Linked DNA regions of Homo sapiens: region 1 is linked to region 2. Evidence: promoter capture Hi-C in 16 types of primary human blood cells and fetal thymus (Javierre and others, 2016). All regions are on one chromosome and are shown on one strand. The core of a region is centred on a gene start or on the middle of the fragment in contact, and the rest is flanking DNA. Distances in the headings are between cores, read along the strand shown.

Region 1 (4,903 bases), core at 1,343-3,842, 2.3 Mb after region 2:
TTTTCCAGGAAACTACATTTCACAATATCATAACCAGTATAATTTGCACAAACGTCCACCCCTCTTTTCATGTGAGTTGACGCTGAGGGAGGAAATCCTGTTGGTTACATGAATCCTTGTAAGATCCAATTTAAGTAAACTTTTTCATGCTTCACAAGTGGAAAAAAAAATCTAAAATGTTAGTTGTTGTTTCATGAGGTAAAAACAAATAACTCAGGCCTGGTGCAGTGACTCACACCTGTAATCCCAGCACTTTGAGAGGCTGAAGTAGGCACTCTGCTCGAGCTCAGGAGTTCAAGACCACCCTAGGCAACATGGCGAAACCCTGCTTCTATTTTTCTAAAAAATTAATAATTAAAAAAACCACATATCACACACATAAATAAATAACTCCACTATTTATTATTCAATAAATAAAACATACATTTGGCTGGGAGTGGTGGCTCACGTCTATAATCCCAGTATTTTGGGAAGTCAAGGCAGGAGGATCACTTGAGCCCAGGAGTTCAGGACTAGCCTGGGCAAAACAGTGAGATCTCATCTCTAAATAACAAACCACACACATTTTCACAAAAATCCTTATTGAAAAATCTTAGGCAATGTTTTTCAGTTCATCTAAAAATTATTTTTAAGATTTAGTTGTATACTGGGAATAAAAGCTGCAGAAGAGAAAAATAATGAACAAGGACAATGCATACAAAAAATCAAAATATAAGCAGTATACTATCAAATACTCAAGGACAGCAGCATTTGATCTTATAAAGTTCCCAAATTTTTTAATAACTTATTTCAAAATCTATAATATAAAAAAGTATTTAATTCATTTATGTATGTATTTTTGAGACAGGGTCTTACTCTGTCACCCAGGCTGGAGTGCAGAGCACAGTGGTGCAGTCATGCTTCACTGCAGCCTTGACCTCCTGTGCTTAGGTGATCCTCCCACCTCAGCCTCCAGAGTAGCTAGGACTACAGGCGTGAGTCCCAGGCATGGCTGTGACTGGCCAAAAACCATTTTTAAAGGTTACTTTACCTTCATTCAAATTAGAAAACCACAGTCACCTAATTCACTGAGTTTTCAAAATGCAGCTAAGGTAGAAAAAATATGTGATTATTTAATCAGGTAGTGGCTCTCCAGAAAAAAACAGGGCAATTATTCTCATAAGAAAATTTAATACATATGCCAATTGCAAAATAATGTTAATTTCTATAATTGCCTAGATACTGTCAATTTAAATATCAAATGCCCAAATGTCAATGAAGGGTGACTAACCAGACAGTGTGGCACATGCCTATAGCCCCAGCTCAGGAGGCTACAGCAGGAGGATCACTTGAGCCCAGGAGTTCAAGGCTAATCTGGGCAACATAGTGAGACCTCATCTCTAAAATAAGTAAATAAATATGACAAAATTTACCATTTACTGTTTCAGAATTTTTCTTAATCTAAAAGGAAAAATCATCTTGATTTGTCAGTATTTTCATAGGCACACACTGTCTTTCCTTTCCACGTGGCTAATGATGATGAAAAACAGGAAGTCCTAAGAGACGGAAGGGTGGAGGGTATAATGGCAAAAAGTTTCCATCTCCAAAATGTTAAAGAGCAGGATCTCAAAACTAAGATAAAAACCATTTGGCCTGGCACAGTGGCTCACGCCTTTAATCCCAGCACTTTGGGAGGCTGAGGTGGGCGGATCACTTGAGGTCAGGAGTTTGAAACCAGCCTGGCCAACATAGTGAAACCCTGTCTCTACTAAAAATACAAAAAATTAGCTGGGTGTGGTGGCACACGCCTGTAATCTCAGCTACTTGGGAGGCTGAGGCAGGAGAATCACTTGAACCCAGGAGGTGGAGGTTGCAGTGAGCTGAGATCTCGTACCACTGCACTCCACCCTGGGCGACAGAGCAAGACTGTCTCAAAAAGGATAAAAACAATTTAAGAAATCTCAAGCTATTATAAGACTTCAGAATTCTGCTAATGATGTGTTCTTTAACGAATATTACAAACAATTATTTCAAATGCTTAAAAAACAAAATTATTCCCTGAGAGGATATATAATTTCCCCCATGAGAATGATTCCTACATAAAGGAAAGCCTGTATTCATGTGAATCTTGAAGGCCCTAAACTGGAAAGGTTACATAACAGTATCAAGACATACATATATTAAGTTAGAATTTCTCATTAAGCATATAATGCTTTTAAAGCCCAGTTAAACCTTATCAGGGCTTTTTAAAAACTGAAGATTACTGCACTATCAATTACTCTTCCTAAAATAACTACAATAAATTTGCTAAGACTCACTTGTAGAAACCAAGCAATGTATTTTCTCTTATCCAACTAAAAGGGTGCCAATAAACAGCTATCTAGTTTTAAATACAAACAAAAAACATTATTATTTTCTTATAGAACATCCACACATCTCTCACAGAACAAGTAACATCCAGTAACTATACCCCTTCCCCAATTCTGTCTTTGATCCTCTAACACTCCCCATAGTCCCTACATTGTGCCAGGTCTATCATGACTATATTTGACAGAGGGAGTTTGTTCACTGACCAGGTAATTTAAAATTTCTTCATACTATAAAGGTTGAGAAGAGGGCATGTTTCCTGTATTAAATTACACTGAATATTAATTAGGCCTTCAGGCTAATTTAGCTATTAATGTAGATATAACACACAGCAGCTAAAGTAGTATTTAGGGAAGTTTATTAGAGCACAGAGGTCAAGACAGGAACAATGATGGGTCTGACTGATCCCCATGGAGGTTAACTGGCTTTAGAGTTACCTTTGTTACAGCAGCTCTGAACCACTGACGGTTCTACGTAAATCACCACCCTTGTTGCAAAAACAACTTGAAGCACGTATGGAGACAGTATGTCAGTTGCTTTATATAAAAACTGCCATCTTTCCTTTTAAATTCCCCTAAACCACCATACACAAGTTAATCTTTTACTTTACTCAGGCTCCCAGCATTCTACAGCCATAAAACCTACTCTCTTCCTTTCTAAATTTTGCTCAAAGATTTGATCTTTCCCTTGGTAAGAAACACCATGATATAAAGAAGCACATTTATAAAACTCTTAGCCTTACCTGAAACTGACTCAGAAAATAACTCTGCAACAACAGGTACTCTACCTGTTCACAATAAAGTTCAATCTTCTTGAAGGTCCTCAAGTTCTCCCTACAATTTAGTCGACAGAAACTCATACTGTGCCTTGACACACTGTTGACGTGCAGATGTAAATAACTAGTAACAATGACACGCCAGGAAATGACTGAACACTATTCATCTTATGAGCCTCATTAAACAAGCATGGGGCTCAACGTTAACACAGTCAACACTAAGAGAAAGAGGCTGGGCATGGTGGCTACGCCTGTAATCTCAACACTTTGAGAGGTTGAGGTGGATCATTTGATCCCAGGAGTTCAGGGCTCCGGGACTGCCACTGCACTCCAGCCTGGGCAATAGAATGAGAATCTGTCTCAAAACAAACAAAACAAAACAAAAACACTAAAAGGAAGAGACTTAGAACTCTCTTCCTGCATAGAAACTTCTCAAATTAAATACCGCAGTACTTCAGGAAGAGGAGTTTTTAATTTACCCCACAGAATCAGACTCTCAGTGTAGGAAGACAGCTTAAAAATCATGTGACCATCCTATCATTTGTGCTGCTCAGTAAGGTAACATTTAGCTACATGTGACTGTTGAGCACTTGAAATGTGGCTTCTCCAAACTGAGATGTGCTGTAAGTATAAAATACCAGATTTTATAGATTTAGTATCAAATAATGTAAAATATCTCATTTTAAAAATTGATTTCATGTTAAAATAACATATATAAGATTAAATAAAATATACTACTAAAATTTTACCTGTTTCTTTTTACTTTCTTAATACCACTACTAGAAAATTTTAAATTACTTATATGGCTTGCATTGTATTTCTATTGAAGACTGCTGCTACAGACCTACAGCCTTAATTCTAACAGCAAGCAAGGACTATCACTTGGCATTTCCCAATTACAGTTGTCATTTAAAAGCCAAAAGAGGCTGGGTGTGGTGGCTCATGCCTGTAATACCAGTGTTTTGGGAGGCTGAGGTGGGAGGATTGCATGAGGCCAGGAATTTGAGACCAGCCTGGGCAACATAGCAAAACTCCGCCTTCACAAATAAATAAATATATTTAAATGTAAAAAGCAAGAAAAAAAGTATTTTAAAGGCGTGGTGGCTCACGCCTGTAATCCCAGCACTTTGAGAGGTGGAGGTCGGAGGATCACCTGAGGTCAAGACCACCCTGGCCAACATGGCGAAACTCCGTCTCTACTAAAAATACAAAAATTAGCTGGACATAGTAGCAGGAGCCTGTAATCCCAGCTACTCGGGAGGCTGAAGCAGGAGAAACTGCTTGAACCCGAAAAGCGGAGGTTGCAGTGAACCGAGATGGCACCAGCCTAGGCGACAGAGTAGACTCCATCTCAAAATTACTTCAAAAAGGCAAAAACAGCATAGGATAGAAAACCACACTTCTTAAGAAAAAAGATGGGAAATACTGCACACTAATCAAGTTTTTCTAATAAAGTATGTCTAAATCCTGATCATAAAGTTCATCTTTAAGGTGAAATCAACATTCTCAGCACCTGGGACCTCAGAAAAAAAATAAGATGTACAAAAATCTCTTATTATTCAAGTACCTTCAATTACAAACAAGTGAACCATCAACACTGTAAAAAGGGAATATTATAATGTAATTCTCTTTCCCAAAACCAAGAGAAAATAATAACACTCAAAAGCAAAATAAAAAATGACATCAGTTTTTCTAGGACTCAGTAGGCTAACTTTGGTCCACAAACATTATGAAATAAGACAGTGCATTTTAAAATAACTGTTTTGTTTTTAACCACAATGT
Region 2 (4,579 bases), core at 643-3,142:
ATGACTCCATCCAAACCTCTGAGTTACTAAGAGACAAACTTTAGCATGCCTTCTAGCAGTGTCAGATCATGTCCCTAGGAGAACCCCAGCTCCCCCATGAAAATGCCTGCCTGAGAAAGCTCAATGCTACCAGGAGAATTTACTATTTGTTCTAGCCAACACCTGATGATAGGCTCCTGACCTCCCTTTCTCAGGGCGTTTATTAAGGGCTTACCATTATGAATCCTTCCTTCTTCTCTTTAAGGTGTTTATGCGTCTGCTACAACTCAAGAGGTCCTTCTAAAGGACCTGAGAGCCATTCCTTTGAAATTGATCGTCAAGAAGGGCAGAGCCTCTACCTCCCAATCTCAGTGCAAGAATAGCAAGCTAGGCTGGGCGTGGTGGCTCACGCCTCTAATCCTAGCACTTTGGGATGCCCAGGCGGGTGGATCACCTGAGGTCAGGAGTTCGAGACCAGCCTGGCCAACGTGGCGAAACCCCGTCTCTACTAAAAATAGAAAAATTAGCCAGATGTGTTGGCATGCACCTGTAATCCCAGCTACTCGGGAGGCTGAGGCAGGAGAATCTCTTGTACTCGGGGGTGGGGGTGGGGCGGAGGTTGCAGTGAGCCAAGATCGCGCCATTGCACTCCAGCCTGGGCAACAAGAGTTAAACTCCGTCTCAAAATAAATAAATACATAAAAAAGCACTCTAACTTCTATAGCTGCTAGCTAGCAGACACATCTGGCCGAATCGCATCTATGCCAATCAAATCTGTAATTTTTCACTTCTCCAACACTATTGAGCCCTGATCACCTTCCTTCCTTCATTCTCCCTTTGAAATGCCCAGTCACTTCTGTACAAATCGGAACAGAGGTCAGTTCTTTTCCTTTCTGTAAGTAGTTACTGAAAAAAGTCTTTTTCACTGCTTCAATGTCTAGCTGGGTTGTCTTTGACAGGATCCAAAAAGGAGGGGAATTCAGCCCATTTGCCTTTTCCATCTGCAGGGCAAAGTTTTGAGTTGACTCTGAGGAAGTTACGCCTTTTGTAAAAACAAAACATCCAACCCTGAATGAAGCCCTTCCCCTTAGGCCTAGGCCCTCCCCTCACCAAGCGACACCTAGAGGTGACAAGCAGGCGCTCGCTCAGGGACCTAGGTAACGATACACAATGCCATGTAACAAACTCCTGCTCATCGAGGGCATCTGACCCTGGGTGCACGAGTGAATTAACTGAGTTAATGTTGACTAAGTTCCTGGTTAGTATTCACGGAGCAATTGGTGACCCCACCAAAACGTCGTTCAAGGTGCAAGGTCCAGAGGCCTCGAGGAGTGGGATTTACACATCGGAGCCGTCCGCTCAGACGCCGTTAGTGGAGGGTTCCGCCGACTTCACGGGAGTGAGGAAAGTCACTTTTGGAAATCGACTTTGCCTTCGCCCGCGAAGCCCGCCAGCGTCCGGACTCGAGTTGCCCCCGGAGCCACTGCCGGAAGTTTACCAGCTCACTTTCGGCGTCGCGCCCGCCTCCGTGGAGCAGGCCGGAAGTGGCTTTCCGGCAGCCGCCGCCGCAGCTCCGTAAAGCAAGATGGCACTACTCACTCTGAGGCTATTATCTCCGTTTTATATCTAGTATTCCTCTTCTCACCAGTTACTCTCGATTTCCGTCCCGCGCCCTAATTTTCTTCAGCACCACATTCTCATGTTTTTCTTTCATTCAGCCTTGGTGGAGTATGGTCTGGAGGCAACCTACGGCTAGCCTGAGCAACGTGGGGCACCATTTTGTACGGAAACTGAAGGCAGGGCGGGGGAGTGTGAGGCCTCCCGAGGAGGCCCGGCTTGAGAGAGAGCGTGGGAGGGAGAGCGTTGTTCACCGATGATGTATTTCCGCTTCTGGTCTGCCTGGTCGTTTTTGGTTGGATCGGCTTGTTGCGGGGAGGGAGGGGGGGAGATTGTTTGCAGCATAGAAGCTCCGCGGACGGGAAGGTAAACTGAGGTAAGGCTGTGCGGGGGGCTTTTGCGCATGGCTGGGTAGAATGGACGGGAGTAGGGTCCTTGGGATTGCGGAAGAGTGTGGAATTGGAGACGGGAGGCTTAGATGTCTCGGGTTGGACAGAGAAGGTGGGGTGGGGCTCGGGGTTACAAGGTGAATCGCAAAGCCGGGCTGGGGTGGAGTGGGACGAGCGGGAGACCACAGGAGATGGAGGAGAGCCTAGGGGTGCAGAGGAAAGTCTCGAAGGCGCTGGTTGAGGAGGGCCTGGGTCGAGAGGAGCTGGGACGGGGGAAGAGTAGAATCTAAAGTCCTTGAGGGCTAAGGAGAGAAGTTGAGGTAGGGACTGGTCGGAATACATGGGTGGGGGCGTGGTGAGAGTGTAGTTTTTGGGAGGCTGTAGAGTTGGAAGGGGCTGGTGGCTGCGGTTTTGATGCTGACATGACCATATACTTGGCCTTTGTTTCTCTGCAGCTCCCCAGAGACGCTCATCCTACAGCCTCAGCTCGGGCCCAGCCTTCTCTCTCCAGCTGCCACCACAGCCTGGAGGCGCCTGCCTCCACCCTCCCGAATGGTGCTCCTCCTAGCAGGCCTCGGTCCAGGATCCAAGCCCCCTTTGCCCCCTGCCTTGGAGCTGTTGCTCCGGGTTTGTCACAGTGGACTCCCTGTGGCGGGAAGGGAAGAACTTTTGCACAGACAAGGCTTCAGCTCTAGGAACCCCACTGACAACTTGAATCTCAACCTCTAACCTAGTGTGAGGTTCTTCCTGTGCCCACCTTTTCTGCCTTTTGAGAAGAGAAACTCTTCTCCTGGCCATCTAGAGCCCAGGAAGCCCCAAGCTGGGGCCCTGGTCCCAGCATGTCAGTCCTCTCTTGTGCATAGGGCTCTGCCCTCCCCCTGTCAGCATGGCTGAGCTCAGACAGGTTCCAGGAGGGCGGGAGACCCCACAGGGGGAGCTGCGGCCTGAAGTTGTAGAGGATGAAGTCCCTAGGAGCCCAGTCGCAGAAGAGCCTGGAGGAGGTGGAAGCAGCAGCAGTGAGGCCAAATTGTCCCCAAGAGAGGAGGAAGAACTGGATCCTAGAATACAGGTGAGAGCACTGAGAGCAGGGAGAGAAGGAGAGCCCAGATTCCAGCCTCCCTGAAGAGTGTTGGATGAATGAGGGCTTAGACTTACTCTGTCCCCAGTCTGCTGGGGCAGGAAAGGAGAACAAGTTTGTCAACAAATCATTGCAGGGTAATGTAACAAGTTCCAAAAGAGTTGTGTGTCTGAAGTGCTGATGGAGTGCAGAGAAAGGCCTGGCCTTAGTGCTTGGGAGGCATTGCTGAAAGCTTCACTGAAGGAGCAAAGTGTCACTTGGCAGTAGATGGAGGAGGCACACTTTAGGTCAGTGGAGGGTAGGTGTGTTGTACTTCTTTCCAGATAAGCAGAGGGGCTGCCACCTTAGTTAGGGATGCTGTGTGAGAGGAGATGACTTTGATACTGGGGGACAGTTTTGAGGCTGAGTGAGAGAATCTTTTCCCCTTTCTCACCTTCTCAGCGGTACCTTCCAGGGATGTGCGGCCCACATTGCTCTGATAATGTGTTTCACCCTTGTAAACAGTGAGACCTTTCCAGTGTTATAAAGGTAGCATCAACTTTAGATCTATAAAGAAACCCCATATGTTCAAGGATTTGTAACTTTTGTTGTGGCCAATCCTTAGTAACATACATACCTGGCCCTCAGGATAGTGGGTCTCCTAAAGGAATGGAAGAGCAGTTTATTGCCTTGGAGTGTCTACAATCTAGTTGGTAGGACAGGCAGATCTTTGTGTAGGAGACCTGGGGGTAGTCAGTGAGGAAGACCAACTCCATGTGGAAGAGATGCCTGGCCAATCAAAGCTGGGTTGCAGTGTTTCAGGGAATTGGCTGAGAATGACTTCCTGAGGAAGCTTCTTGGGCAGGTGACGACCAGGATGCTCCTGCATGTTTGGGGCTTGAGTCTGCCATTTGTTCCGGTCACATCTCCAAGACTCTGATGTTGTGGAAGTGACTCTTCTGTAGGTGAGCAAGAACATATGAAGGCTCAAATTCCTAGGCTTATCTGTCAGCAAACCTTTATTGGATTACTCCAGTGAGTTGGGAAGAAATCAAAGCCAGTCCTGGCATTCTTCCTTCACTCTCTGTGTGGGTTCCTGGGATATGTGTGTGTGTGTGGGTTCCTCTTCTACTGTGTCCATGCTTATAATGGAGCAGTGGTGAGCCATTTGTTTCTGGCATGAGTCAGTAATTTATTTCTGCTCTGCCTGACATTGCATTGAAAACAGCCAATTTTTCTTGCTATTTCTACAGATTTATCATCCTCTGAGGAAATCAGTTGTAGTGAAAAAAGTCTTGGGCTGAGTTTCACGCTACCTCCAACCCCATGATTTATGATTTTTATGGAAGTTTCTTTACGTTTCTGAGCCTCAGTTTCTTCATCTGTAAAGTGAGCAGTTGGTCTAGCTGATTTGCACAACTCATTCTTGCTCTGCTCTGACACAAGTCTACAGTTCTTTCTCAAACTCTTTTTGCTTGTTCCTTGGTGATAGTTTGTAGATAGCACTTTGGGAAAGAGCTGTCTCTCTGTTGCTTGT

Evidence for each region. The method cuts DNA at HindIII sites, captures the fragments that hold promoters and counts their contacts. A CHiCAGO score of 5 or more calls a contact.
Region 1: a fragment that was not itself captured here is called in contact with the fragment with the promoter of SH3BP5L in region 2 in 2 of 17 cell types (neutrophils and fetal thymus); the score reaches 7.4 in neutrophils.

What each region holds. Positions count from the first base shown.
Region 1 is chr1:246,568,176-246,573,078 of GRCh38, reverse strand. The region is part of intron 1 of CNST (consortin, connexin sorting protein); the gene reads right to left. Among named protein-coding and RNA genes, the nearest start is that of CNST, 4.2 kb to the right of the region's middle. The HindIII fragment of the contact is 6,551 bases long and covers 1-4,903 here.
Region 2 is chr1:248,823,228-248,827,806 of GRCh38, reverse strand. It overlaps SH3BP5L (SH3 binding domain protein 5 like), which reads left to right and starts at 1,892. Exons shown (of 7, transcript NM_030645.3): 1 at 1,892-1,972; 2 at 2,441-3,054. The coding sequence starts at 2,872. It overlaps MIR3124 (microRNA 3124), which reads right to left and starts at 1,430; the gene lies at 1,364-1,430. RefSeq lists enhancers at 1,201-1,300, 1,371-1,420, 996-1,546, 1,531-1,790, 1,547-2,098 and 1 more. The HindIII fragment of the contact is 10,505 bases long and covers 1-3,297 here.